Regions from separate parts of the Homo sapiens genome. Here all the other regions are linked to region 2. Evidence: promoter capture Hi-C in 16 types of primary human blood cells and fetal thymus (Javierre and others, 2016). All regions are on one chromosome and are shown on one strand. Each heading gives the region's core, a stretch centred on a gene start or on the middle of the fragment in contact. The rest is flanking DNA. Distances are from core to core; before and after follow the strand shown. Region 1 has its middle 64 kb from the start of LINC00342. Region 2 holds the start of FAHD2A (fumarylacetoacetate hydrolase domain containing 2A). Region 3 has its middle 100 kb from the start of LINC00342. Region 4 overlaps LOC101926959 (a long non-coding RNA gene). Region 5 overlaps MAL-AS1 (MAL antisense RNA 1). Region 6 has its middle 110 kb from the start of TRIM43. Region 7 has its middle 84 kb from the start of LINC00342.

Region 1 (4,146 bases), core at 653-3,152, 360 kb before region 2:
AGAGCCTTGGGACACAGGGAGTCTCATTCCTCCCTCCCAGCACGGGCTACGCCCATGCCACTGAGGCCTGAGCCACAGGGCACTGCCTAGCCCTGCTTGGGCCGGGGCTCACCAGCCCTTACAGACAGCAGGCCCCACCTCCAAGACACTACCCCATGGCAGGGGAAAGCCTTGGGGTCCCCATAAAATGCAGGCATCGCCAGACAGAGAATAGGTCTTCCCAGGATGGGAAGATTTACTTAGGGAGGGGCCACCCTGGATACCCTGCCCTCCAGTAGGAGCCAGGTTCCGGAAGATCCCATGAGGGGCCAGTGTGGACCCCTCCCCTTCAACCATCCAGGCCTGCAGGTCTGGGGCTAATGGTGGGGAAAGGGGGCTCCAGCAGCAGAGGAGGGGCAGAGCCAGTGGATGGAGGCAGAAGGCGGGCAAATCTCAGGCACATTTTCTGCAGTGATAAAGACCTTTTGCTCAGCAGCTAGCTTCCACGGCACTTCTCCCCCACATGACACCACGTCAGGGCCCACAGGAGAAAGTCCGGAGTAGGCTGAGGCACTGGGTCCCCTCCCTTCTCCCAAAGACACCTGCCTACAGGGGGCACTGCCCCCTCTCAGAGACTGGGGGTGGAAGCTTAGCTGCAGGGGGTGGGATGGCTCCAGGACAGGAGAGCCATCCAAGAGAAGGCCAGGGCTCTGGGAGAAGAGGGGTCCTACTGCCCTCCCGGAACAGGGCTCCTGGCTCCGTGAAGCCATCTCCACAACTCCCACAGCTGCCTCCTCTTCCCCTCCTCAAACTCCCATGGCCACCTTCAGCTCCCGCGCCATGAGGTCTGCTCCATGACCGCAGGAGCCAGACAGAGGCCAGGGTAGCCTCGGGCAGACAGACACTTTTGTGGGTGTTCACCCAGAGCTAGACCTCAGGGAAAACAGGGGTGGCCTGGGGGCTGAGAATTCGGCAGTCCCAGCACATCCAGGACCATAAATACGCCATGCCCTTTGACCCGCTAACCCCACTGTTTGGAATTCCTCCCAAAAACATAATTGCAAAGGGAAAAATAGCTATATGTGCACAGCTGTTTATAGCAACATTATTTATCATAGTAAACAAGTCAAGTCAGCCAAAATACTTTGCAAGTTTTGGGAGGGGGAACTGTGGGTCAATAAGGTGGGATATTTATTATACTTACAAGAAAAATGGTAAACTTGTAAAATTACTCATACAATAATGTTAACAGCAGTGAGAAGACAAACTTGCACATATCTGTTCGGGCAGCAGACGATGACTGAGCACCCTGGGCTACGCAGCTGCTCCAGGTGCCAGAGAGATCCCCGTGAACAAGACCAAGTCCCCACCCTCATGGAGGGAACATTCCAGAAGTGCACCATAGGGTCAAAGGTAAATTAAAACTACAAGCAAGTACTTCCCCAAGGCAGGGAGATGGACAGAACCGAGTGTTGTCCACTGCGGGGTCCATCCTTCCTGGGCTGGGTGGGTCACCAGGGAGTGGCCCCACAGAGGTCTGCAGGCTCCTAAGGCAGGAGCCAGACCCAGGATCAAAGCAAGGGGCACCTAGCCAAGGGCAGTGGGTCCTGCCAGACCACAGGGTCTTCTCCCCACAGGAGGGAAATTTGTCAGGCTGCTTTTAGGAATCCCATGAACCTTTGGGGTTTGTGGATGAACCAGGGGAGGAGCAGTCCCCGAGATTGTGAGCTGAGTTTTCTACTAACTTAACAAGCTAGGAAGGGTCACAACTGAGGGGCTGGGGATCCATTTTGCCTCCAGCATGGCCAGATCTGCAAGCAGGAGACGTCGTATGGTGGCCTGGGAGGCAAAGGGGTCTGAGTCAGAGGTAAAGGTGTAATCTGAAGGTGGACTGTCCCCCATCCTGCCGGCTCCCTGTGGTCCAGAGAGTTGGAGAAAGCCCCTTGGACCAGAGCATTCCCACACTTGGTCCTGTGTCGGGTAGGAGATTTGCAGGAGGCCGTTTCTGCTGTTCCAGAGCCCAGATGTACTTCCCTGGGGTGCTGGGAGCCAAGGCATGGAACTGCAGTCGCCTCCCAAGTTCAGGGCCCTGGGTGGAGCTGCTGGCTGCAGCCAGGGCCAGGGAGCAGAGATGCCCCTCTGCCACCCTGCCCCACCCCAGGCAATGAAGAAACTCCAAGCTCTGGGTCCGTGGGAGGCACCCGGCAAACAGAGGAGTCGGCAAGCTAACCTTGCTATTAGCAGCGATGGAGAAGTGATGATTGTCTGCACAGCTGTCAGAAGCAGCTCCCCGCTGCCTGGCACCAGCACCTGGGGAGGGGCCGCCACTCATCGGCCTTCACAGAGATGCCCCAGGCTGGGAAAGAAAGACCAGCAGGCCGGACCTTCTGTGCCACCACTCCCTCGTCCTTAGCTGCAGGGATCTTGCCCTTCATCCAGAGACTGAGACCGGGAAGCGAGGCCCACCTCTGCACCTGCCCCCATAGCTGGGCCTTCGTTCCTCAAACTGTAAGCTGGGGATGAAAGTAATACCACCTTTTGTGGCGGAATTGTTGGGAGGGACCAGCGAGATATTTTGTCTGAAGCACCTTGCAAATGGTAAAGGGCTATGGGGTCACTGCTGTTACAATTCTTCTATCAAAAATCTAAAAATCTAATCTTCAGGGCTTTCACTGTCTGTTTCATTCACACAGAATAAAATTGAGGCTCAAGAGGTTACACGATTTGACCAAGTCACACAACTGCAAACAAGTAGGTGTCGGTATTCAGGATTGAAGCCAGGAGGAAGCTCAAAGAGCATCCAGCCCCCATGCTGTAAAAGGGATTCAAGGCCCAGAAACAGAAGGTGATTAGCCTTGCAGCAGGACAGAAGGCAGACAGCACCGAAGCCCAGCTCTGCTCACTCTGCTGGGAGCACTTCTCAGGCCACTGTGGATCTGGGCATTGTCCTCAGCTAGGGGTGGCTGCAGGAGCAGCCTGAGGAATGAACCCATGCCAGAGCACTGAAGATGGGCCCCTGCCCCGCATGCTCCCCACCCAGGTCTCTTCATCTCAAAGGGGCTCTAATAGAGACCCAGAGTGGCTGGAGGAATGCACTTTAATGGTGGAAATGTGGGTTCCAGAGTCTGCTCAAGATGGGGTCCCAGAGCAGGGAAGGAGCCTGCCCAGGCACAAGGCAGGGGCACCTTTCAAAGCTTCATGTGCTGCCTGGGGCCCTTGACAACCCAAGGCCTTCCGGATGCTTTGAACACAGTCTTCTCAGCCCTGCCGCAGCCCCACTTGACAGAAGACAGACGAACTGGGAGGTGAGAGGCACTGCCCGCCTGACCACCCACCACCCATTGCCTCTGCCTTTTGACAGCACTTACGTGGGCAGAGAGGCGGGAATGCTGATTGCACCATGTGGGAGGGACGTGGAGGGTGGGGAGGTGACTCACAGGACAGTGGGGGATAGGAAGCAGCTCCAGAGCCTCCCTGACAGTGAAAGGGAAGGGTGCCTGTGACTCAGGGACAGCTGGGGAGGGGCGGGTGGGAAGGGAGCTCATTCCTTGAACCACGGTTATCTGTACCCAGCAATGTACCCTGGGTGCCTGGGCCCCACTCTTGCCCCCATGGGGCAGTCTTTGCCCTCAGCTTGCTTCCCAGCAGTAGCCAGGCACCCAGTAGCTGCATGATGAGTGAATTCCAATCTTGCCCGCTGCTGCCCAGCTGAGCAGACCTTCGGCAGGCTGAGTGCTCCTCTGCCCTCACATCTAGGCCTATAGATGGGAGCAGAGCTGATTGCCCATCCTGCAGCTGTGAATATTACAGCTTCCAGCAGCTTCTTGCTGCAGACTTGCTGAGAGGACTGAGCACTATAGCAGGCCACCCCAGCCCCCAGGAACCCCCTCTGAGATGGCCCCCACAAATAGCGAATAAATGCCCTACTCCCAGGCCCCCTTGCTTGCAGTTCTCCTTTCACCCCTGCCCTGCACTGAGCCCCCTGACTATGGCTCCCTGATTCATTCTCACCAATACCCAGTGTCCCCAGAACGCAACACACTGGGCCCTGGCAGGGCACAGGGGAAACAGCACATTTCAGACTGGGACTTTTCAAACCCAAAGAGAGTCTCCCACCTGGATGGAGGCAGAAGAGAGTCAGGCTCACATGGTTGAACTCTGTCCCCT
Region 2 (3,613 bases), core at 396-2,895:
CACTGCACTCCAGCCTGGGTGACAGACGAAGACTCCATCTCAATTAAAAAAAAAAAAATCCTCAGGGCTCAGATCCTGTTTTGAGTCCAAGGCTCCACTTAAAGACAAACACTATTCTCTTGTTTTGTTCTTAATCCACGTCTGGCCTCTATTCCTTACCACATGGTGCCTTCCCTGAATGGTTCCTTGCTCTTACAACAAAGGCGGTATTGTACAGCCTTCTATGCCCAAAAATGTGGAGGCAGCTGATCCCCAGACTCTTGGTCCTCACCTGGAGATTCAATCTGCCTTGTTCAGTTGAAGATTCATTAGACTTAGGTCACCACTGTTGTGGCCCACCAGTTTGACTAGAAAACCGAGGGCTTTGACTTCTCTGCCCTGCTGTCTTACACAAGCACCAACTGTGCCACTGTCAAAAGGCTGTTCGAGCCAATGTGCACACACTCAGACACTCCACATGCTAACATAACAGTAACTGCTGCCGCTGAATGCCAACTATTAAGTGCTCTACCTACAATGTCTGATTTAATTCTCGACAATTGTGGAAGGTAGGTACTGTTAGCCTCATTTTACAGATGAAACAATTAAGGCTTAAAGAGGTTAAGAGATTTGCCCAAGGTTACACAGTCCTAGAGCTAGGAGAGGAAGGAGCTGGGATGTGAATCCAAGTCCAGGTGACATGAAGTCCTTGGTTCAGAAGCTTGTAATGCAAGCAAAAAAATCCAGCTTCAGCCCCCATCCCCCTACCAAGGCCATTTTAACCCAGAATGTTGTGGTGAGAAGTGGGGACCTTCCATAGGAAATCCTCCAAAGTCTCTAAAGATTGTAGTGAGAAGTAGGGACCTCCCACAGGAGATCCTCCAGAGGCCGTAACTGCTAACAGACATGCGTGGGGAAACTACAGGCGCCCTCTGGCTGTTGCCTCAGGGACGAGGCTGGTTACCAGCTCTCCAAGAGAACCCCAGGCCCCACTGACTGTTCCCTTCCCACATGACACACACATGCAGGTTCATTCCAACCTTACAGCAATCTCCTCAGGTAGAGCGCCCTCACTTTAAAGAAGAGGACACTGAGACTCAAAGGGATGATGTCAGGTGCCCAAGGTACTAGTCAGAAAGTGGCCCTGGGGCTTCTGCAACAACCACTATATCACACAGCCCGAGCTCAATCCAACTCTGCAAGAGTCCATAAGCAAAGGGGCGGCGACATGAGGTGGAAACAGTAGCCTCCATCAAACAAAGCCTGAGACATGGGTGTGCACGTCGGATTCCATCCCACCGTCCACTCGCCTGGAACCCGTGCCGGTCCCCCAGTTTCCCCATATGCCCAGCTCCAGCCCCGACAGTTAGTGAGTGCTCACACAGGTCCGCCCCGTCTGTGTGGTCAGAAGCGGCTGGGGATCCGGTACTAGTTCTGCGCTCCGCGGGAGACCGGCGCCACGGACACCCTTCTGGCCTAGACCCAGCCAGGCTCGTCCTACCTGGCCGCGGCGGCCGATCTTCCTGCGCTGTAGGGTTAGAGCTCGCGGGGCCGAAGGTCAAGGGCGGCGGGCGCCTGAGCACTGCCACCAGTGACCGCAGCCAGCCGGGGAAATGCAGCAGCTGCTAACCCAGGGCCACTCGGCCGGATCACCCGAGAGAAAAGCGGGCGCGATCCTGTGACGTCACAGGCAATGGCCACTAGCAGGGCGCCAATCCCGGAGGGGCGGGCCCATCGTGGGGCGGGCGGCTCCGGCGGGTCTTCAGGCTACGGGTTCAGCCAGGCGCCAGCCGCGTTCTCTGGAGACGCTCTCTCTCGGAGGGACCCTGCACTTGCCTGAACTCGAGAGTGGGCGCTGCCCGAAGGTTTGTCCCTGGGCGCTTCGCTGGCCTCATCCGGTCTCGGCCTTGTTCTGGGCCTGGCGCCTTTCCCATTGTTGGGGAAAGTGGTCTAGGAGACCAAGGCAGCGTGCTGGGTGGCAGAGAATGATTTGTGGCTTCTGATTCTGACATATGTCGTTGAGGAGGGGAGGGATGACTGCCCCCGTTTTACTTATGGAGAACCTGGGGCCAGAGCTGTTTTCCCAGGGTGACACAGGCGGTGAGTAGTGGAGCTGGCATTCCTGACCCCAAAGCGCAGCGTTTCCCAGCCACTCTCCGCAGCCAGGCCTTCACCTGCACTGCTGGGCGCAGGTGGGGAAGTGGGGAAACGGGACTCCATCCCCTGCAGAGGGCAGGCGTGTAGGGAGTGGCAGCTGAACTCCACAGACAGCTACTGCTCAGCTCTTCAGCTGCCGACTTTGAACAGTGTGAGGGGCTCTGTACAAGTGGCCCCCACATTACTCAAGGACCAGATCATCAAGAGCTTTACTTGTCCCACGAAGGAGTCTGGACCTTGTTTACGTGCACAGGAGACCGCTGGAAGGTTCTCAGTGGCGTGCCATGTCCCGACTTCTATTTGAGAAGTTTTTCTCTGGCCACCCGTCTGAGGAAAGGTGTCTGGGTGGGTGGTGCGGTTGAGAACAATGGTGGTGCGGTGCGTGGTGGAGAAGGTGAGTGTCCAGAGATGTTCAGGAGGAAGAACTGACAGCTCTGAATGACAGGAGGTGGAAGTGAGAAGGAAGGAGGTACAAGGCCAACTCCTGGGTCTCTAGCTCGGTAGGTGCAGGGCCGTTCATGGAGACAGGGCTCCTGGAGGAGCAGCGGGTCTGGGGAGAGGATGGTGAGCTCCGATTTGCATGGGACATCCAAAGGGCATTGAACGGTGGGCAGTTGGAGACATGGGTCTGGAGCTTGGGACTTCAGCCTAGCTTGCAGAAGGTCACCACAGATATTGAAATGGAACCTATGGGGGTGGCTGTGATCAGGGGGATTCGCTGAGGAGAACCTGGCACAAGGGTTTCACTAAGCCATAGCTCCCAAAGACTTTCTGAAAAGCTAAGTTACAGCCTGGAAGAAAATATCTGTAAAGGCTATATTTGATAAAAAGACTTGTATCCAGAATATAGAAAGAATGCTTAAAAGTCAGTAGATAAAATCAAACAATTCAATTTTTTAGATGGACAAAATATTTGAACTGACATTTCATCAAATAAGATATACAGACAGAAAATTGGGACATGAAGGCTGGGCGCAGTGGCTCACGCCTGCAATCCCAGCATTTTGGGAGGCCGAGGCAGGCGGATCACAAGGTCAGGAGATCGAGACCATCCTGGCTAACACAGTTAAACCCCATCTCTACTAAAAATACAAAAAATTAGCCGAGCGTGGTGGTGGGCGCCTGTAGTCCTAGCTACTGGGGAGGCTGAGGCAGAAGAGTGGCGGGAACCCGGGAGGTGGAGCTTGCAGTGAGCCGAGATCGTGCCACTGCACTCCAGCCTGGGCGACAAAGCAAGACTCTGTCTCAAAAAAAAAAAGAAAGAAAAAATTAGGACATGAAAAGATGCTCAACATCATTAATCATTAAGGATATGCAAATTGCAAGCGCAATGTGACACCATCTCACACCTACTAGAATGGACAAAGAAGACTGATTATACCAAGTACTGGCAAGAATGTGGAGGACCTGGGATTCTTGTACACTGCTGATGGGATTATAAAATAGTACCACCACGATCGAAAACCATTTGTCAGTG
Region 3 (3,757 bases), core at 774-3,273, 320 kb before region 2:
AAGGAAGACAGCGAGAAAAGAGAAAGAGAAGTTTCAACAGTGATGAGGAACCAGGCAAGACCTGCTTCCTAAGTTGCAGCAGAGGCTGAAGAGTTCAGACCCTGGAGTCAGTCTGCCTGTGTTCAAATTTCTGTCCCATCACTTTCTAACTGCATGGCTTTGGGCAAATTATATTGGCATTTTCTATTTCCTTACCTGCAAACTCAGAGTGCTGCTAACATCTATATCATAGAATCGTTGTAAGGATTAAATAGGATAATTCACGTAAACTTCATAGCACAACATTGGACACAATAAATGCTCACTCGGTTAAAAGGGTTAATAGTGGTGGTGATGGTGGTGATGGTGGTGGTGGTGGTGGTGGTGGTGATGGTGGTGGTGATGGTAGTTTGATCCTGACCTAAACTGGGTGAATAATTTTATTCCCATTTCACAGGTTCAATAAACTCAGGTTCAAGCAGTCAAGGGTCTTGCTCAAGGTCACACAGTTCATGGCAGGTCCAACTCAAGTTCCACTCTCTTTCTGCCTGGGAGCTCAGTGAGTGATCCAAATGACCTAAGGAGGAGGAGCTGAGACCAGAATGGACATTCTTTTCTGGAAATCAGAGGACAAGAAAGATCCAAACCAAAGACCAAACTGAGCTAGGTAAAACATGAAAACATTCCAAATCATTACTTAGAACTAGTTAAGAGCATGCCTACTGAGAAAGTCACTCTCTTCTACTTCCCTGAAATTGCCAACTTGGGCAAGATTTCACCATTCTCCTCCCCAGTATTCATCTACCTCAGATGTAGTACTTCTGTACTCAGATGTAGTGCTTCAAGGGAAGTCTTACAACCAGGAACAGAGGTGAAGTTTCCCCTAGAAGGAGCCCTAAGTCTATGGGTTTAAGCGGCAAAGGCAAGGAGGCTCCAATCTTGACCCCAAGCTACTTCAAGAGGGTCTGGGCTGCAGAAAAAGCCCACCTGTCTAGGACCTTTCCTCTGGGCTATAGTTCTACCCCCAGGTGAAATCTACTCAATAAAAGCATTAAGACAGCATTTATGGACCAACTTACGTAAGGGCCAAAGGTCAGGGACTGCAGCTTGTATTAGGACTAAAAGAAGAGAGTGACCTCAAAAGTTACAAATGACCTGGGGGAGTTATGAGATGTGGCACTCACCACTCTTTGGTTATGACTGTAATGTTGCTGGGAGCTAGACACTCGTCATGGCTGAGGCCCCAAGTATCTGTATGATGACATGACAGGTGCTCATAGACACCTGTCAAATAAATGAATAGAAGTCCCATCACTCCAAGTGAGCTTTGTGACACACTCTCGCAGCCACTCTCTCCTTTGGTTTTCCTGGCAGCTCTGAGAGTTAACCTCAGCATGCATTCTTATCCACCAGTACACACTAAGCTCTTCGGGAGGCCTCTCATTAATAAGAGCAGCACAGAGTTTCTGAGCACAAATCTTATGAGCTTTCCATGATGCCACATGTTGAGGTGCCAGAGTGCTGCCTGGTACATTCTGAGACCTGTCACAGCTCCCCACTTCTTTCTTCCCTTTCTCCAGCCCAGGCTTCAGGGGGCACCAGATATTTGAGCCCCTGGTGGCATCTTACCTTAGGTTGTTCTGGATGTCACTCTCACTAGCTTCTCTGAGTAGAAAGAACCAACTGAGACATTTGCAAAAGAGTTGTGAGTTTCAAGTGGGAAGACCTAGGATCTAGGACCAGCTCAGCTCCCTGCTAGCCGAGGATCCCTGGCAATTCATGAAGCATTTCTATTCCTCAGGTTCCTGATCTGGGGTGTGGAGAGGCCAACTAAAGGACACAGGAATGTGACATGACCTTGATGGTACCTGACACATTACAGGTCCTGGGAAAACTGTTGTGGGGGTTAAATATGAAAATGCATGCTAAGCAGTTATCCTGGGGCCTGGGCTCAGTAAACATTGCTACTACACTTATTGTTTCTGACCAACTTTAATCCCTGGGATGATGTCTGTCTAGCATCCTCACACTGGGAGCTGCCTCACTCCCACCACTATGGTTTTCACCTCCCCAGATCCCTGAAAAACACCTCTGCCTCTCTGGTCTCCCCAGGGTCCCCAATCTCTCTGGGCTTCCCCTCACCCAGTCCACTGGGCATGAGTCTCATCCAGCCTGCGTGCAGAAGTCAGGCCCCTCCACCATCCTCACTAACCTACTGCAGCCCCTGCCTCTCAAAGTTCCACCAAGTCTGTGGCAAAACCTCAGGTCAGGCTGAAGGTCCCCATCAGCCTTTGCTGTCTCTCTCTCCAGCTGAGCAGAGTCTTAACCATCTCATATTCATTTTAAGCACATTCCCTGTCCTGGAGCCCAGAACCTTCTCCAGGCCTCTGGAGCACCTGGTTGCACCCTCGCCTCCCTTTTCAGCAAGTGACTTTGCCTTCTTGTTCTGGGGAGTCAGGCCCCCTGGGGTGAGTGCTTCTCTGCATCCCATCAGGACCACAAGGCACATGGGGCCATCGAGAGAAGGGAAGAGAAATGGGAGGGGTGACATGAGATGGAGGCATGGCATTCTGGCAGCGGAAATGGGCTGGAGTGTGGCCCTGGGGACTCACTGACCACTAAACCTTGAGGGTGGAAGCAAGGCCTGATAGCACATCTGGCATGTGGTAGCCACTCAGTAAATATCCACTTATGCATGCCCAGTGTTGACATTTAATAAGCATGTTTTATTGTATTCAACACCATCCCAAGAATGCTGACGTCCAGGATCAAGTTGCCCATATCCCTGCCTTTTATGGACTCCAAGTGTGGGGAGGAACTAAAGAAGGGGAGATCTGCCCAATTTCCGTAACCCAAGATAACATGCTAGAGAGAGCACACAGCCTGTCAGGAGGCTCATTCATCTGCTTGGTGCAGGGGAGACGTTGAACATGTTCAGTCGCAGATATGTCTGAAGAAAAAAGACCAAAGGAAGTGCGGGGGGCAGGTGGGAGGGTGTATTCTGCTTTTCAGAAATCGTGTGTCCTCAGAGGATGCACTTTCCAAAGCCTGTAACATTCGGGCGGCCAGCAGCACGGGCACCTGCCATCTTGCGGACACGAGCTGCCCGTCTGGTTTGTCCTCTGCGCCTCTGCATGGGAGTGAGATGCAGGCCAGTGAAACTGCTCTGTAGACAGGTCAGCAGAGGGAGTGGATCATGACAGGAGCCGGGAGACTGGCTTCTCATTCGGGCCCTGCAGGTGACGGTGTCACCCTGTGTGTGACAAAGAACATCACCTTTCTGCTCAAGGGCCTCTGTTTGAAATTAGGATCTTGGCCCGGATCAGTGGTTCTCAAATTTGGATGTGCATCAGGACCATCTGGAGGGCTTTGGTAAAACACAACTGCCCCCACTCCACCACCACCATAATTTCACACTCAGCAGGTCAGAGGTGGGGCCTAAGACTGATTCTAACAAATTCCCAAATGGGGCTCATGCTGCTGACCCAGGGACAACGCTTTGAGAACCACTGGCCTAAATAATGACTACAGCTACTTCCAGCTGTGAGATTTTAGAATTTTGTTTCTAAGAAGCAGTGTAATATGGGAAGAAGAAATTAAGAAATAAAGGAGGATTTGAGAAGACACATGAGGCCTGGTGCAGTGGCTCACACCTGTAATCCCAGCACTTTGGGAGGTCAGGTGGGAGGATGGTTTGATGCCAGGAGTTTGACACCAGCCTGGGCAACATGGCGAGATTTCATCTCTACAATAAAACTTTTTAAGAAATTGGCAGGTG
Region 4 (3,709 bases), core at 601-3,100, 260 kb before region 2:
AGCAGGAAGCAGAAAAGGAAGGGACAGGATTACTAGCAAACCAAAGGTCACCTAGAGTCCCTGGTACACTTGGACAACAATAAGCCCACACTGGTGGCTCTTTTCAGGAGGATGTATGAATGCTGCTTACCTAAATGCCAAGCCTTCACAGGCAGGTCTGAGTGTGCACCATGCCACGTGCTGCCTGGTTATGCATTTATATCAAGCATCACAACACACCCCATTGTTGACCCTATAGAGCATCTCAGGAACTACACTCAGATCTTACCATAAGTCACAGCAAACACAGTTAGGAAGGAAAACGTACTAGAGAGTAGTTGAGTAGATATACATCAAAGTGAAATAAACCACAGTTGTTCAGAAAGTCAGTTTGCAAAGTTAACGACAGACAAGTTCTGCCCAGGCTAGGCCTTGCCGCCTTGCCCCTCTGCACCTTGGCACCTGGGGCAACAGGAAGAGAGAGCAGCTGTAACTATCACCTCGTGGAAGCTTTGGTTTCCCCTTTTTGCAAAGCTCTGCTCTGAGAAAGATGTGCTTCCCAGGAAAAGAGAGAGGGTGATTTGGTTTGCAGGCATAGAGAATGTTTCCACAGCAAAAACTCATCAGCAGTATGTTGCAGTTTTTAAAGAGATTGCTTTCACTTGAGAAAGGTTTTTAAACCAATGGAAAGGTTACAGGAAGAAATACAGAACACTGGTGATGCTGAGGGCAACAGGAGAGCTTTCATTTTATTCATTCTTCATGTATTCATTCAAAAGTGCTTGATAAGTAGCTGCAATTTACTTGACTGTCAACCAAAATTGTGAGAATCCCAGTATGATTTCAAATTGCCCTTTTAGGAAATTAATTAGAAAAGTGATAACGAGTAACTTTTTGTCATCAGTTCTAAAAAGCCATTTGTGAATTTACTTTTATACAGGTTTTGTGACAGTAGGGCCACCAGACATTTTGTATTATACATGCCACTCCTGCCAACCATAGATGTGATATTTAGAGATGATTCTGTGCAGTTGCCAGAGAAAACATGACATATGCATAAACCCAAAGTCGTTTGCTAGTGTTGAGTTTAACTCTCTAGTTTAGAGATGATCAAGAGTTCATCTTATGTGGCAGCTCCATTGGCTGGGGTGCTGTGTTGAGACATCTCCTGAGGCCAATATGGATCAGTAGAAAAAGTGCCTTAGGATCTGGGCAAGAGGGATACTTGGCATCCTGGCTGTTCCATCTTGAGGGCTGCATCCCAGCATCCTTCAGGCCTACTGACCAGGAGCATTGTCCAGCTGTTCATTTTCTCCTAGGAAAGCATTCATGATGAGGTCTGGGCTCTTTTTTCCAGGGGCAGGTCTGAACTGGAGAGATGAGTCGCATGGCTAGAGCACGATACCCAAGTGCTGGGCCCAGACTGTCTGCCACTTCCCTCTCTGTTCCACACAGCCAGCAACAGAGCAAGCTTTTTCCTCCCAGCAGAGCGCCAGTGTCAGGCATGGTGGAGGCAAGGCCAAGCAACCCTGGGGGCGATAGAGGCAACCGGCTTTGGGTTGGACAAGCCCAGTAGACCTATTTCTCCTAGGACCATGAAAAGCCTGTCCCCCACATTTGGCTGGGAGCTAACTGTTAAAGTTGCAGCTCCTTGAGAGTTAACTCCAGAGACAGCTGCACTCCTCACCTTGTGTCTGCATAATTAACCAGCAGTTGTTCCTGCTTTGTGGAACATGGACCAGGCAACCCCTGTGAGGTCCTGTGGGGACATTCTCAGTCTGACTGGCAGGCAATTGGCAGGCAGACACAGCTTCTGCAATGCTTGACTGAAGGGACTGAGGACAGTCCAAGTTTTTCTTTCCCACCTCAAGTCACATTTATCCTTCTCTTCTGTCTCCCTTCCTCAAGACCCTCCCATCATGACCAGCCCCTCTGGACACTGACCCTGCTATTCTCCTGAGGTGGTCCAGATCGGCCCTGATATCTGCTTCTGGATTGGAATTTGAATTGAATCCCGAAAACCTTAAAATGTAAATTCTACAGTGTCTAAGCTAGAAGAACCTTAAATATCTTGTGGACAATCTCACCGTTATGCAGAAAAGGAAAGCACGTTGGCATACCCAAGGACACACAGCTGGCCAGGGCAGGGCTCAAGCCAACTCTAAGGGCTGATTATGGCCAAATTCCACTCACATTTCATCCTACCCAAAACCCTACAAGACATTCAGTCCACAATCATCTGGAGCTGCGTGATCTCCCTAGATAAGCTTCATGCCATCATTTTAACTCACATTTCTATACCTTCAACACTAACATCTTATTTTAATTCCAGACCTATTTTTTTAGGTACCTAAGATTCCTCAGATGCAACCCAACAGAACCTTGTTGCCTTCTTCTTTCCTAAACCTATGCAATCTTCTGTGTTCTTGCCTGTCTCCATTACATTCTTCTGGATGTGGATCTATTCTGGGAGGGAAATGAAGTGCCTGTTCCTCTGGGAGAGAAATGAAACATGTCTCCCGGCCAGATGGCCACAGGGAAATTGCTCTGGGGCTGAACCTCAGACATGAAGATGAACATGAGGCTACCATGATGACTGGCTTCCCCTAGTGGACTCTCAGGGAGTGGACACAGAAGCTTGGACATCTGACATCTCTCTGTTCTCATCCAGCCTCAGCTGTCCACATTCAGGGACTGAAATTCCTTCCTCCCAAGGGATTCAATCTGTGGTAGTTCAATCTCTTTCCAGGCGAGGGAGGTGTGTTAGAACCTAGTACTTCCCAAAGGTGAAGTGAAACCTGCCTCTCTCTAAATTCCACATTGCTAATTAAATATCCCATGTGACTGTCTATATAATATTAAACATGACCCCCATGTTTCCCAGACCAAACACCGTCCCTTCTCTAGACCAAGCATCTTCAGGTCCCAGTGCTCATGGGACCTAATCCCCAAACCACCCCAGATACACACCCTGTTTATGCCCATGGGGGTTAAACCCTGCATAAGGTGCTAAGGACAGACCTGGGTAGAGGAGAACTTCACCTCATGTGCCGTGTTCCAGCAGGAAGGTCAATCTGCTTGAAAACTGCCTGAGGTTACAGCAGTTGTGTGGGCCGCCCAGTCCACAGGTCCTCTTCCCAATCCTCCAAGAAAATGGGGCACAATTTCCATCGCAATGTCTCCTTCCTGCCCTCAGCCAGGACACCTGCCTTGTTTTCTCGCAGCCTCTCCTACACTTTTTTCAAACTCCTTCTCAGATCCTTCCTCTTCTATGGGTCTATGCTATGTGCACCTCTTTGCTGAAAGTAGGAGTGGGTCATTGCTCTTAAACATTACTTATAAAATGAGGAACTGAGCTGGGCAGTCACTAAGGTCTCTCCTCACCTTATATATCCTGTTATTTATTTGTCTTATCTGTTAACTTAATCACAGCTTCTAGTTTGCCTTCCTCCTCAAGGGCACGATAGGGTCTGACCCAGTTCTATTGCTAAATAAACACTTGCTTATTAAATTGAGTTGATACATATTAAGGAATGGAATGAACCAGGAAAGCGAGCTGTTGATAGGGAAAAGGTAGGTGCTGGTACAGAAACAGGCAGAGGAGGGGGCCCTTCCCCAGGAAGGTGACTTGGGTCAGGACAAGAAAGATGGGAATAGGCTAGAAGCAATGGACAACACTCAGAAGGGAAATAGGAGAGAGATCCTATCATGGCTACGCCTCTTGTTTAGG
Region 5 (4,178 bases), core at 90-2,589, 390 kb after region 2:
CATCCTGGCTAACATGGTGAAACCCCGTCTCTACTAAAAATACAAAAAATTAGCCAGGCGTGGCGGCGGGTGCCTGTAGTCCCAGCTACTCAGGAGGCTGAGGCGAGAGAATGGCGTGAACCCGGGAGGCGGAGCTTGCAGTGAGCCGAGATTGCGCCACTGCACTCCAGCTTGGGCGTCAGAGAAAGACTCTGTCTCAAAAAAAAAAAAAAAATCTCTCTCTATAGACTGGAGGCAAAGAAGAGGATGGAGCTAATAATGAATGATGGCAGCATGGAGTCAAGCCCGAGGTCTTAGAGAAAGTCACAGATGACCGCGTCCCGTCATCTGCCCACTGCAGAGCCCAAGGCACAGAAGGCCTCTCGCCGTCACAGCTCCAAGTGCTGGAGCTGGAGGCACACAGGCGGCAGTGTGTGAGGGGCAGGGCTGCCAATGGGCTGTAGGCTTTATGGCCTAGTGAGAGACCCTGGAATGTAATCTGGGCTTTCATCGCTCTGCAGCTGGAGTAGGGCAGGTCACTGCCAGCCTGCGCTGGGCTGGACTGCTGGTCACCAGGGACCTCTAGACCTCTGTTCACAGCAGACTGCCAGGCCTAGAGCCCAGGGAACCCAAGGCAGGACTGATGGAGTGGAGAGGAGGGAAAGGCGAGGCCCCCACTCCTGCAGCTCTGCAGGCTCCAGCAGCATTAGAAAGGAAAACTGTTTTAATGGCCTCCTCGAGGCGGAGGGAGTGGTGTTTAACAGGGCCTGAGGAATGGGCCCTCAGTGAGCTCCATGAGGCCTACTGGGTGCTGGATCACATGGCATGAACACCAGAGCCCTCTACCATCTGGAGACTGTGGCAAGTTCTTTCATGCTCATGGGTGAAGCAGGCATCCTGGTGGTACTTCCCCGTGGGGTGGTTGAGGGGTTAAGGGAGGCTTTCCTGTCCTGAGCCCACCCCATATGAGTGGCTACTAAACGACGGCCTCAGCATTCGTTACCCCTGGGAGGGCCTCCTGTCTCTCCTCTCTCTGCATAAGCTGCCCCAGCCGCCTTCCCACCCAGCCTCCGGGCTTCCAGCCCCCAGACCTGGGAGACATAAATGTCTGTTGTTTCAGCCACCCAGCCTGTGGTATTTGGTTACGGCAGCGTGAGTTGACTAAGACCCAAGGAGAGAGCCCACACCCCCGATTTCCACTGGGAAGTGGCGGCAGCAGCACTCAGAGCTCTCAGGTCTTTGTACAGCAGTCCCTGGGCCAAGTCTTGCTGTAGATGAGCTCCTATCAGCTCTACCAGGGCAGTCATGCTGGCATGCCCACTGTAAGGATAAGGAACCAGAGGTACAGAGAGATGGAAAAACTTGCCTAGAATCACAACGGTTAGAAAATGGCAGAGGAGGGATTTGCACTTTTGGGCTCCAGAGTTCACCGTCTTTTTTTGTTTTTGTTTTTGAGGCAGGGTCTCACTATGCCGCTGAGGCTGCAGTGCAGTGGCGATCATGGCTCAGTGCAGCCTCGACCTCCCATAGCCGGCTAATGTTTTTTGCATTTTTTTTGTAGAAATGGGGTTTTGCCAGTTGTTGCCCTGTCTGGTCTCAAACTCCTGAGCTCGTGATCCTCCTGCTTCTGCTTCCCAAAGTGCTCAGATTACAGGTGTGAGCCATGGTGCCCCGCCCAGAGTCCAGGGTCTTAACTACAGTGTTTGATTCTGCCCCAAACCAGCTCAGTTGCCTCTGGGTCTCAGCAATTCCATTTTTAAACTTGTTATTGATATACTCACAGTCTGTGAAATTTACACAACACATAATTATGTGAACACACTGCCAGGTCGCCTTGCAGGGCCATGGAAGGGACTGGCCAGCAAGGGCCCAGCTGCTGAGGCTGCACAGCCCCACAGCAAAACGTCCCTGCGCTGAGCAGGGTTCAACCTTACAAAGAATTGAAGAGTAGATTTATATAATAATGGGATACGTGATGAATTTTGAAATTATTGCCCAGATAATGAAACTTTGGAGCAATATATAAAGATTGTGACCCCTTGGGTAGGCAGGTGTTACCTTGACTAGACTTGCCCTCTTTAAGTTATGGTTATTCTTTTTATTCTTTATTCCACTTCTTTGCCCACAGTGCTGTGGGCTTTAGGGTCACTCTGGCTTCCTCTGACCGGCCCTGGAAAGGAGGCCTCCTTCATGGCACCTTTTGTTGTCCTTGAAGAAAGTTTTTGTTACAGGAAAGGTTAACCAGAGGTTACTCTGCTTTATAGAGTTAATATCTCACTCATTAAACCCACACATTCAAAAACCCAGTTTTTACTCAGGCATTTAATTTCAGCCAGCAAATTGTAAAATTGTACGTGTATATTTTGAAAATTGTACATATTTTGTCTAACATTTTTGGCAATCATTTTAAGGACAACTTTATTTCTTAATAATTTCTTAAGGATTAAATTCCCTTAAACCTTTAGAATTGTATTTATAAATGTAATAGTTTCTGTTTTTCCTGTAAGTATTCTAATTATTAGAATTATTTAAAATATTCCTGAATATTTAAACAACTTATGAATCCAATAGATTAAATCTAGAAATATGGTGTATTTTGAGTTCTCTCAAGTCTTCTATACTGCTTATAAATTTAGGACATTTTAAGTAAAAATCACAAAGCTCAGCTGATGACATATTTTAAATTAGAAGCAAAAAAGGTGAATATTTACTCCATTAGGGCTAATTTCTTTTAAACTTGATGAAACACCTAGAATTTGTAAACTATGTGCAAACTTACATGAAATATTATTATTTTGGGTTTGGTTTATTTAATAATTCTCTACTTTATTCTAACCCTCCCTGGGCCATGGTGACTCAGAGACAGGGTCAGTGCACAGGCTGGGCCCATGGAGAGCAGGGCATCCAGAGCTTGTCAAGGGCTGCTGGCCAGAGCCTGCTCCCCTCACTGCTCTTTAAGTGACTGTAACAGAAACGGGTGGCCTTAAGCCAAGCTGAGCGGGGGTTTCATTACACCTGCCTTGTAGGGATTCTGGGATTTGTCATGGGGACACACTACAATGTGTACCTACAATAAGATGGAAAGATGTTCAATTACACTCTATACACATATACACATGAAAGGGAGGGACCCCTTTTGCTTTGCCTGTGTGCAGTAGATGCTTACACGGAGAGTTTGGTGTAGACAGACAGAGACAAGAGGCTCCGCATTTCAGGGAGGAGCAGACCTCTACAGCGACCAAGGAGGAGGGCCAGATACAACTAACTGGAAGCTGAGGAGCGGGTTCTCAACTTGACCCTCTGAGGGCACAGGAGACATTACTGAGCAGGTGCACAGCTGTGCCAGAATGAAAATGTTCTGTGACAGAGACAAGAGCGCCTGCTGAGAGCGGAGCTGTCTCCATGTGCATGACCACAGCCACAGCCCTGTGACATCAGGCATGTGACACGCTTGCTGGCTGATGAGGCCCAGAAAGGGCCTTTAGAGGTGGCTGCGAGGCAGCGCTGCAGTAGGATACCCTTATAAGGAAGCTTTTTGCCAGGACTGGGCTGGCGGCTGTCCTGGGAACCCCAATCCCACAGTGCTTCTGGCTTTCCTCACCATTAGCATCTCCTTTCCTAGCAAATATCCTGAGAGCGCTTTGAGATTGTGTTTTTCTCCTGGGGCAACCACCTGCAGAATCTCCACGGAGGGGCTGGGAAAATGCTTTGCATGATCCCTCAAAGCTCCCTTTCATCGAGGGAGGAAAGGCTGAGAGGTGGGCCTCAGAAAGAGCTTCGTGGGGGCAGGAGCCATCCTGGGGGTAGAAGAGGGGTGTAACTGGTCTAGTCCATCCGAAGTAAGGGCTTTAAGGAGCCTGCTGGGAGAGTTTAACCTGGGACCCCCGCAGCATGAGGGACATAGAGACTGGCCTCAGACCCAGGCTTGGATGATCCAGAGGGTGAAGTCAGGCTGGCAGCCTGCTCTTATGCTGGAGCCCAAGTGGGTCATGGGAAAGAAGAGCCAAAGCGTTCCCATTGACCAGAGGCCAGGTGAGAGAGTGAGGCGGCCCAAGGTGGTGGCAGCTCCTGTGGGAAGAGACCACCCCAGGGGCTGGAGGTGAGGCTGGCTGCCCAGGGGCCGAGGAAGGAGGGAGTGGCCAATCTGAACAGAGCGGCCTTCTCCTCCTTAGGGTCTGTAGCCAAAGGTGCGCCGTGCA
Region 6 (3,690 bases), core at 564-3,063, 300 kb before region 2:
TCATAAATGCCTAGATAATTGGTTTTGAGGTTTTCTTCTTCTTTCTTTCTTTCTTCTTGGTGGATTCTCAATTTCCCTATAAAAGAGAAAATTCATTTCCAGCCTCTAATGTAATGTCAGCGTGCTGTTTACTAAGCATGGATGATGTATAGGGGGACACTACTTTCAGAGGACTACTTAATGATGCATAGAATTAAATCCTGAGCTCCTCAGCTGAGCCTCCTCCCTCCCTCCTGGTTCCCAGGCTCCCAGTGCATCCTGGGAGAAGCAGGCTTGGCATAACCTGTCTCCCTCATTACTAGAATTCTGGGGTCTCTGCCGAAGAAGCTTGGAAATCACCCTTCACTTTAGCAGACACATTTGCCCTTGGCGTAGACCAGAGTGAGCTTCTGGGCAGTAAGAAGCTGATGGCCAGGGGAAAGAAGACTGCTCAGTGCTGAGGGAGATAGAAACAGGGAGTTCATAGGATGCACCAGGGTGTTGGGGTTTCCCTGTAGGGAAAGGGCTGGCCAGGGAGAGGGAGGGGTGGAGCTTCTCCCAACTCGCCCTCTGACCCCTGGGAACCATAGCATTCAGATGTCAAGTAAAATATATTTCCCTAGTTCAGCTCCAACCTTAGGGGCCTGTGAGGCTGTCATTGCCACAGCAGCACCTTGGTTCTCATGCACATGCCAGGCAGATGCATTGTCAGTGCAGGCTGCTCTCACAGTGGGCTGGCCAGCCTGGGTGGGCCTGGCCTCCCCTGAGGAGCTGCACCCTGCTGAGAGAATACCCCACCTTCCCCCCTGGGGAAAAGTGATTCGGCCATGCCACCAAGGAGACCACCAACTGGTGGTCAGCACTGAGGAACTGGGAGTGAAGGCAAGAAGATAGACAATGGGAGGGACCAGTGGGCTGAGGGGAGAGGGGAAAATGTAGCTCTCCTGCGGTGGGGGTGTTGGGAAGGAGTATCCAGACACACAGTCCCTTCTGAATCTCCACCAGGGTCGCTTTGACCCCCTTGAGTCTGCAGAAACTGACTTCCCCCTAGGTAAACCCAGTGGCCTCACTTTCGTTATCCTCCTGAGCGTTTGCTATCACTAACCACTCTCTCCTTTTGGAAGCCCTCTACTTAGGCGTTGTCGATGCTGCTCTCCGGAAAACTCTGTGAGTCCCTATCTCCTTTGTGGGGGTCTTGGGCTCTTCTAGTCTGCGAGCTGAGGATTTCCTATAGGAGTCTTTCTTGATGGCTCTCTCCTCTGTATATTTTCACTCCCTATACAGGTTCCCTGTTTTTCATGAATCCAAAGCCCATGTTTCCAATCTAACCATGAACCTGGGCTCCCAGAGTATGTCCACAGCCTCCTCTAGCAGCAAATTCAGAACCGTTCCCCAGTCAGCTCCCTTCCCCACCACCCCACTTCTGCCCATGCTATTGCCATGGCTTTCAGATTAGAAAACTTAAAGTCATCATTGTCTCGCTTTTCTTTTATTAAAATTTTGAAATGACCTGTGGCTTCCATCTTTCCTACTTATCCCCTGACCCCCATCACCCCGATCCAAGTCCTAGGCCTAAACTCCTGCCAAGGTCCCCCAAATTTTACCTTCCTGCAGTTGAATCATCCCAGTCTATCCTGAACTCTGAGCCCAACCTCATTTTCACAAAATACCATTTAAAACGCGTCATTTTACAGAGGCTAGTCACCACCCACTGAACTGTGTCCAGACTACACAGCCCTGAGCAGATCCTGCTTCAAAGGAGAATCAAAGGGAGCGCTTTCACCAGCTGAACCTGTGGAACAACAGTTGGAGAAACTGAGTTTCCAACCTGGAAAAGGGGAAGTTAAAAAGTTGCTGAGCTTGTTTAGAAAATCAGAAGAACTGCTCTGCAGCAAACAGGGAGAGATGCTGATGACACACAGAGAGATATCTGAAATCAGTGAACAGCAGAAACCATGAGCTAGGCTCCACAGGACTTTCCAACAGAGGCATTTAAAGGTGAAATGATCTTTCCCATCTTGAAATATTTCCCAACAAAGACTGATGATCACATATAGGGATATTACAGAGGAAACCCACATGTAGGACTGGTGAGGCATACATAGTTTTTCTAGAAGGGTTTTAAAGTTCCTCCCCACCCAGAGGTACTGTGATGCTGCACCTCGCTTCAAGAACTTCCTTCATCTGGCCATCCCTCTGTATTCCTCTTTTTTCCCAGCATCCCAGTGTATGTCCAGGCAGGCCAGATTCCTCACTGTCCAAACACATTCCATGCAAGTCTTTGCCCATGTGGCTTCCCTATGAAGAATGGCCTCTTGCTAATCCTTCAGACCCCCTCCTCCAGGAGACCTACTCAGACTCCTCTGCTGTCTGCTATCTTCGCTCAGCCCTTCAACCACACAATCTTGTACTGTACTCCCCTTCCTTACCCTTAACTTTTTCTAAGTGAGGATGAATCTGACCTCCTATAGTATACGAATCATAATGCGTCTTTTGCAGTCTCACTGTAGCTAACATAGAACCTTGCAAACACTGGCCATTAATAAAAACTCGATGCGTTGGTTGATTAAACACAGTTACACACAAAGTTCACTGCCCACCTTGAGTATTGCCGTGTGAGCCTTGCCAGTCAAGAAGTGTTGCCCAAAGAAAAATTCTGTGTGTGGCTCTCCATCATATACTGAACAAAATGCAGTTCCTAAGCATGACACTCAGACCCCAGCCCATACTGATCCTGAGCTACCTGTTCAAATGTTCCTGCATTCCTTACTCTATCACTGGCCAAATCAGACTATATGCCATGCACTATTTTCACAGTTTCCCTGCCTGGAAAGCCCTTCCCATTCTTACACACCTGGACATTCCTATTTGGTCTTCAAAAGGCAGCTCAGAAATCACCTTCTCAGTGGAGCTTTTCCTGATGACCTCTAAGGCAGCTTCTTTGCTCCCTCCTCCGTGCTCCCAGGACACTTTGGGCAGATCTCCATTATATTGCTCACCATATTTTATTATAGTTAATTGTGTACACATCTGCCTTCCCCACCATATGATGTGCTTGCCCTTCAAGGGCAAGGACAATGTCTTACCCATCCCTCATCCCTTTAGTACCCAGCTGCGTGTGAGGTGTATAGGAAGAAGGAAGGAGAGAGGGAAGGTACAGAAGGAAAGGGAGGAAAGGAGGAAGGGATACAGAAAAGAAACAAAGGAAAGAAAAGGGAGAAGATATTATGGGCAGTGGAGGTGTTATGACAAGGATCCAATATGGCACATTCACCTGGCCCATAGATAAGTGACCAAGAGAAGACACTTCATGAAGCTTCATGAGTCCAAAAAAGGAGATCTTTGCCTTCTCTCAGACACATCCACTCTGGTATGAATACACTTGATTCATGGCTACAGGTTCTCTGCATTATAGTCCATACTAATTAAAGTAAATGTTCTCTCCCTTCTGGGTCCTTAGTGTGCCCTGTTGAGTAAGACAGAAGACAGTAACTATTTCCCAAAATAGTGGAGGTCTTGCCTGATGAGATAATTCAGTGCAGGGATCTGGGAGCATGTCTTGCCCCAGGAGTATGGTTTATTCAGCCATAGTGGGGTGGGAAGGTGGTCCTGAGCTTTGTGGTGGTAGTGGATGTGTTGGACTAACTCTTGGCAGATTCGGTCCTCAGGAAAGTTCTGCCTAGGTATCGCTGCTAATTGGAATAACTAGGT
Region 7 (3,821 bases), core at 883-3,382, 340 kb before region 2:
AATATTCCTTTATGATCCTTTCAATATCCATAAAAGACATTAGTGATGTCACCCCTTTCATTTTTCATATTAGTAATTTGTGTCTTCTTTTTTTCTTGGCCTGGCTGGAGGCTTATGAGTTTCACCTACCTTCAAATAAACAGGTTTTGATTTTGCTGATTTTCTCTACTGATTTCCTGTTTCCAATTTCATTGAGATGTTTTAATTTTTATTATTTACTTTCTTCTGTTTATTTTGGATTTAATTTGTGCTTTTTTCTACTTTCCTAAGTGGAAGCTTAGATTACTGATATTTGACATTTCTTCTTTTCTAATATAGAATCTAAGAATCACTTTAATTCATTCAATGTTATAAATTTCCCTCTAATCACTGTTTTTGCTACATCCCACACATTTTGATTAGTTGTCTTTTCATTTTCATTAGTTCAAAATCTTGTTTAATTTCCTTAGATTTCTTCTTTGGCCCAGATATTACTTAAAAGAGTATTGTTCAGTCTCCGGGTATTTTGATGATTTCCAGCTGTCTTTATTTTATTGATTTGTAGTTTAATTCTGTTGTGGTCTGAGAGCACACAGTATATGACATATATTCTTTAAATTTGTTAAGGTGTGTTTCGTGTCCCAAAATGTGGTATCTTGGTGAATGTTCCATGCCAGCTTGAGAAGAATGTGTAATTTTCTGTTATTGGATGAAGTAGTTTGTACAGGTTCATCATATCCAGTTGATTGATGGTGTTGTTGAGTTCGACTATGTTCTTATTGATATTCTGCCTGCTTGGTCTGCCAATTTCTGATCAATGAGTGTTGAAGTCTTCAACTTTAGTAATGGATTCATCTGTTCCTCCTTGTAGTTCTGTCAGTTCTTCCCTATAACTATACCAAGATGCCACTTCTCAGCTATTAAATTCAATAATTTATTCAGATGGTGAGCCTGTTTGATAACGGGAATTCTTATACATTCCCGGAAGGAATACAAAATGGTGCAACTCTTATGGAAGGGAAATTTGGTGTTGTCTAAAAACATGCATAATTGCATATGCACGTATATTTTTTTCTCTCTCTCTCTCTTTGTGTGTCTCTGTCTTTTTCTGTCTCTGTGTGTGTCTCTATCTCTCTCTGTCTTTCTTCTTCCCTCCTTCCTTCTCTACAGTGAGCAGTGAGCTCAGAGATCCCATAGAGTTAATTTGTTTTTGTTTTTCTGTTTCTTTTTGTTTCTTTGTTTTTTGTTTTTTTGTTGGGTTATGGGGTTTTTTGTTGTTTTTGTTTGTTTGTTTGTTTGTTTGAGACAGAGTCTTGCTCTGTCACCCAGGCTAGAGTGTAATGGCATGATCGTGGCTCACTACAACCTCCGTCTGCTGGGTTTGAGTGATTCTCCTGCCTCAGCCTCCCAAGTAGCTGGGATTACAGTCTCCTGCCACCACACCCAGCTAATTTTTGTATTTTTAGTGGAGATGGGGTTTCCCCATATTGTCCAGGCTGGTCTCGAACTCCTGACCTCAGGTGATTTGCCTGCCTCGGCCTCCCAAATTGCTGGGATTACAGGCATGAGCCACTGTGCCTGGCCTGAGTCAATTTATTTTAATCGTTTTTATTTTTTATGTTCTTGTTGATCTATTTCTGACTAGTAAGAGCCCCTATGTCCTTTTGACTCAAGCTATTACTCTTTGATAACTTCCTAGCTTTCTGGCATGGAAAATATTCCAGGATCATCTGTATGTTTCCTGCCCTAGACCCAGAATCAGCCATTCTTTCAAGGAAACTTGATTCCTTATCCTTTAAGGAACCCTGTTTCCTTTCATTGGAGACCAGGGTTAAGAGGACCACATGCCAGTTATGGGCAACTCATTGCCATGAGATTGTGGTTACCTGTGAGGTTTACAGCAGGAAAAGGAAATAATCCATTGAATACCAATAGAATCAACAAGTATACGAGCTACTTAATATAAAAACTGGCATTTTAGGGGAGAAAATAAGCATTTATCCAAACTTTTATGTGTGAACTGTAAAGAACAAAATAGTTGTGACGAGGAAAACCGCTGTGACAAGAATGAAGTTAAAAAGTCACCAATTTCAGAACCTAATAAAAAATGTTCAGGCAGCAATATTCATGTATTAAATAATCTATGACTACCTGAATGCAATAAACCTTAGCACCAATAAAATTGGAGTTAACAGACATTGGAAGCCTCCGTTGTGAACAGGCATGAAGCACACCTCATTTTCTGTAAAACGTCCTTGCCGCAGAAGTTACACATGGATTCATTAAGCCTGTAGAACTAGCTTCCATTACAAGAAATATAGGAAATAAAGAAAGAGAGTAAGTGACACCACAAAGAAGCAAATACACAAAGTCCTAAGTGGTAGGACAACCAATCTGGTTAGGACAATTAGCCTAATATCTGCAACAGGTTAGTGGCGTCAAGCTAAGAGGGCAGAGGGGCCAGTTTAGATGAGAGACTCAAGGGTCATGACAATCAGATTTCATGTGTTACCCTTTATTTGGATCCTGGGCTCACAAGTCAACTATAAAACAATAATGTTCATATAGTTGGGAAAATTCAATTATGAGAAAGGTAATAAATGATACCAAGGAATTCATGTTAATTTTGTTATGGATGATAATCAGGGTCATGCTATGACTTTTGTGGCTTCTAGGAACTTTTGTCTATGTGAGCTTCTTCTTCCGTAAACACAATATTTTGTGACCTCATTTTCGTTATTTAATATAATCCAATATGAACTTAATATTATAGATTAATATTGTTATCTTTATTTTTTGCCTTTAAAAGAAATAAAAATTAAAACACTTTCCTGGGCCCCTGAAAGTACTGTGGGTCTTAGGCACTGGGCCTACTGTGTTCAATGGACAAGTCAGCCTTGGTGATAATGCCACAAAGAATTGGAAGAAATTATTCACAATTATTTTATGCTATAGAGTAAATTAATAAGAATTTAACTCACAAAACAAAGAGCTCAAAGAGGATAACATAAAATGGAAAAAAACTGAAAAGGAATTTGTAATTTTCTGGACAAAAATTGAGAAGCTACATAGTTAAATACATATCATTAAATAATACATACATTAGAAATAGCAAGGAAGAGAATAGTCATCCCTAAAAATATTTTGCTGACAGAATAAAGTCTGGTAGCAATCACAATGATTCGTAAAACAAAGACTAAGGTTAAAGAAATTAGTCTAAATATCCCCAGTTCTATTTACTGATCCACAACAAAATGGATTACCTGTAACATTCTAGCCATTCTCCTCTGGTTGAGCTCTGGGTGGCCTATGTCTCACTAAAAGTGTGGTGCCCAGAGTGGAATAGTCTCCTAGTTATTGTCAGACTGACAGACAGTAGGGCAGAACTCTCACATTACCTGTTCCTATTGGTGTAAACCAAGGGTAATAATTGGTTTATCTAAATTAATGCAAGAAAACAGATCCCGCTGGGAATCTCAAAGAAGGAGGCACTGTTATTCTTGGGAATTTGGCTAGCACCATGGCACCAGCTTCACAAAAGAGTTTTAGAAGTGAGACACCTCTGGTTCCAAGCATGAGAGAATAAAAGTACCCTTTTACTGTGTAAGAGTAAGAGTAAGAGTACCCTCTTACTGTGGTCTATTATAAAAACTAAACAAAATATATAAAGTATCTGTTTTTCAGATATTGGATAACAGACAATGCAGGCTTGTAATCCGCTGGACATGGGTTATCTTAAATCTTTGACGAAATACTAAAGCCTAGCAGAGAACAGTCATGGGGAGGGTGGGGTATAGAGCTGAACAGATTCCAGAGATCACATGTACTGAAAGAATTTGGAG

The links. Contacts are between HindIII fragments. The CHiCAGO score rates a contact against its expected background, and 5 or more counts as called.
Region 1: a fragment that was not itself captured here is called in contact with the fragment with the promoter of FAHD2A in region 2 in 1 of 17 cell types (M0 macrophages); the score reaches 6.8 in M0 macrophages.
Region 3: a contact is called between a fragment that was not itself captured here and the fragment with the promoter of FAHD2A in region 2, in 7 of 17 cell types (M0 macrophages, M2 macrophages, M1 macrophages and 4 more). The highest score is 13.6, in M0 macrophages.
Region 4: a fragment that was not itself captured here is called in contact with the fragment with the promoter of FAHD2A in region 2 in 2 of 17 cell types (M2 macrophages and endothelial precursors); the score reaches 5.4 in M2 macrophages.
Region 5: a contact is called between a fragment that was not itself captured here and the fragment with the promoter of FAHD2A in region 2, in 1 of 17 cell types (total CD4 T cells). The highest score is 5.4, in total CD4 T cells.
Region 6: a fragment that was not itself captured here is called in contact with the fragment with the promoter of FAHD2A in region 2 in 4 of 17 cell types (M0 macrophages, M1 macrophages, M2 macrophages and 1 more); the score reaches 9.5 in M0 macrophages.
Region 7: a contact is called between a fragment that was not itself captured here and the fragment with the promoter of FAHD2A in region 2, in 5 of 17 cell types (M2 macrophages, M1 macrophages, M0 macrophages and 2 more). The highest score is 19.5, in M2 macrophages.

What each region holds. Positions count from the first base shown.
Region 1 is chr2:95,760,528-95,764,673 of GRCh38, reverse strand. No RefSeq gene overlaps it. Among named protein-coding and RNA genes, the nearest start is that of LINC00342, 64 kb to the left of the region's middle. RefSeq lists an enhancer at 1,751-2,665. The HindIII fragment of the contact is 2,546 bases long and covers 630-3,175 here.
Region 2 is chr2:95,400,740-95,404,352 of GRCh38, reverse strand. It overlaps FAHD2A (fumarylacetoacetate hydrolase domain containing 2A), which reads right to left and starts at 1,645. Exons shown (of 8, transcript NM_016044.3): 1 at 1,481-1,645. RefSeq lists enhancers at 737-856, 997-1,935, 1,927-2,006, 1,936-2,875. The HindIII fragment of the contact is 5,947 bases long and covers 703-3,613 here.
Region 3 is chr2:95,721,434-95,725,190 of GRCh38, reverse strand. No RefSeq gene overlaps it. Among named protein-coding and RNA genes, the nearest start is that of LINC00342, 100 kb to the left of the region's middle. The HindIII fragment of the contact is 7,546 bases long and covers 1-3,757 here.
Region 4 is chr2:95,665,716-95,669,424 of GRCh38, reverse strand. It overlaps LOC101926959 (a long non-coding RNA gene), which reads right to left. Exons shown (of 2, transcript XR_007087142.1): 1 at 3,001-3,709; 2 at 701-1,508. Among named protein-coding and RNA genes, the nearest start is that of TRIM43, 76 kb to the right of the region's middle. The HindIII fragment of the contact is 796 bases long and covers 1,453-2,248 here.
Region 5 is chr2:95,007,238-95,011,415 of GRCh38, reverse strand. MAL-AS1 (MAL antisense RNA 1) reads left to right here. Exons shown (of 8, transcript XR_007087136.1): 7 at 1-4,178. Among named protein-coding and RNA genes, the nearest start is that of MAL, 16 kb to the left of the region's middle. The HindIII fragment of the contact is 4,346 bases long and covers 1-3,512 here.
Region 6 is chr2:95,696,384-95,700,073 of GRCh38, reverse strand. No RefSeq gene overlaps it. Among named protein-coding and RNA genes, the nearest start is that of TRIM43, 110 kb to the right of the region's middle. The HindIII fragment of the contact is 2,968 bases long and covers 330-3,297 here.
Region 7 is chr2:95,741,243-95,745,063 of GRCh38, reverse strand. No RefSeq gene overlaps it. Among named protein-coding and RNA genes, the nearest start is that of LINC00342, 84 kb to the left of the region's middle. The HindIII fragment of the contact is 3,708 bases long and covers 279-3,821 here.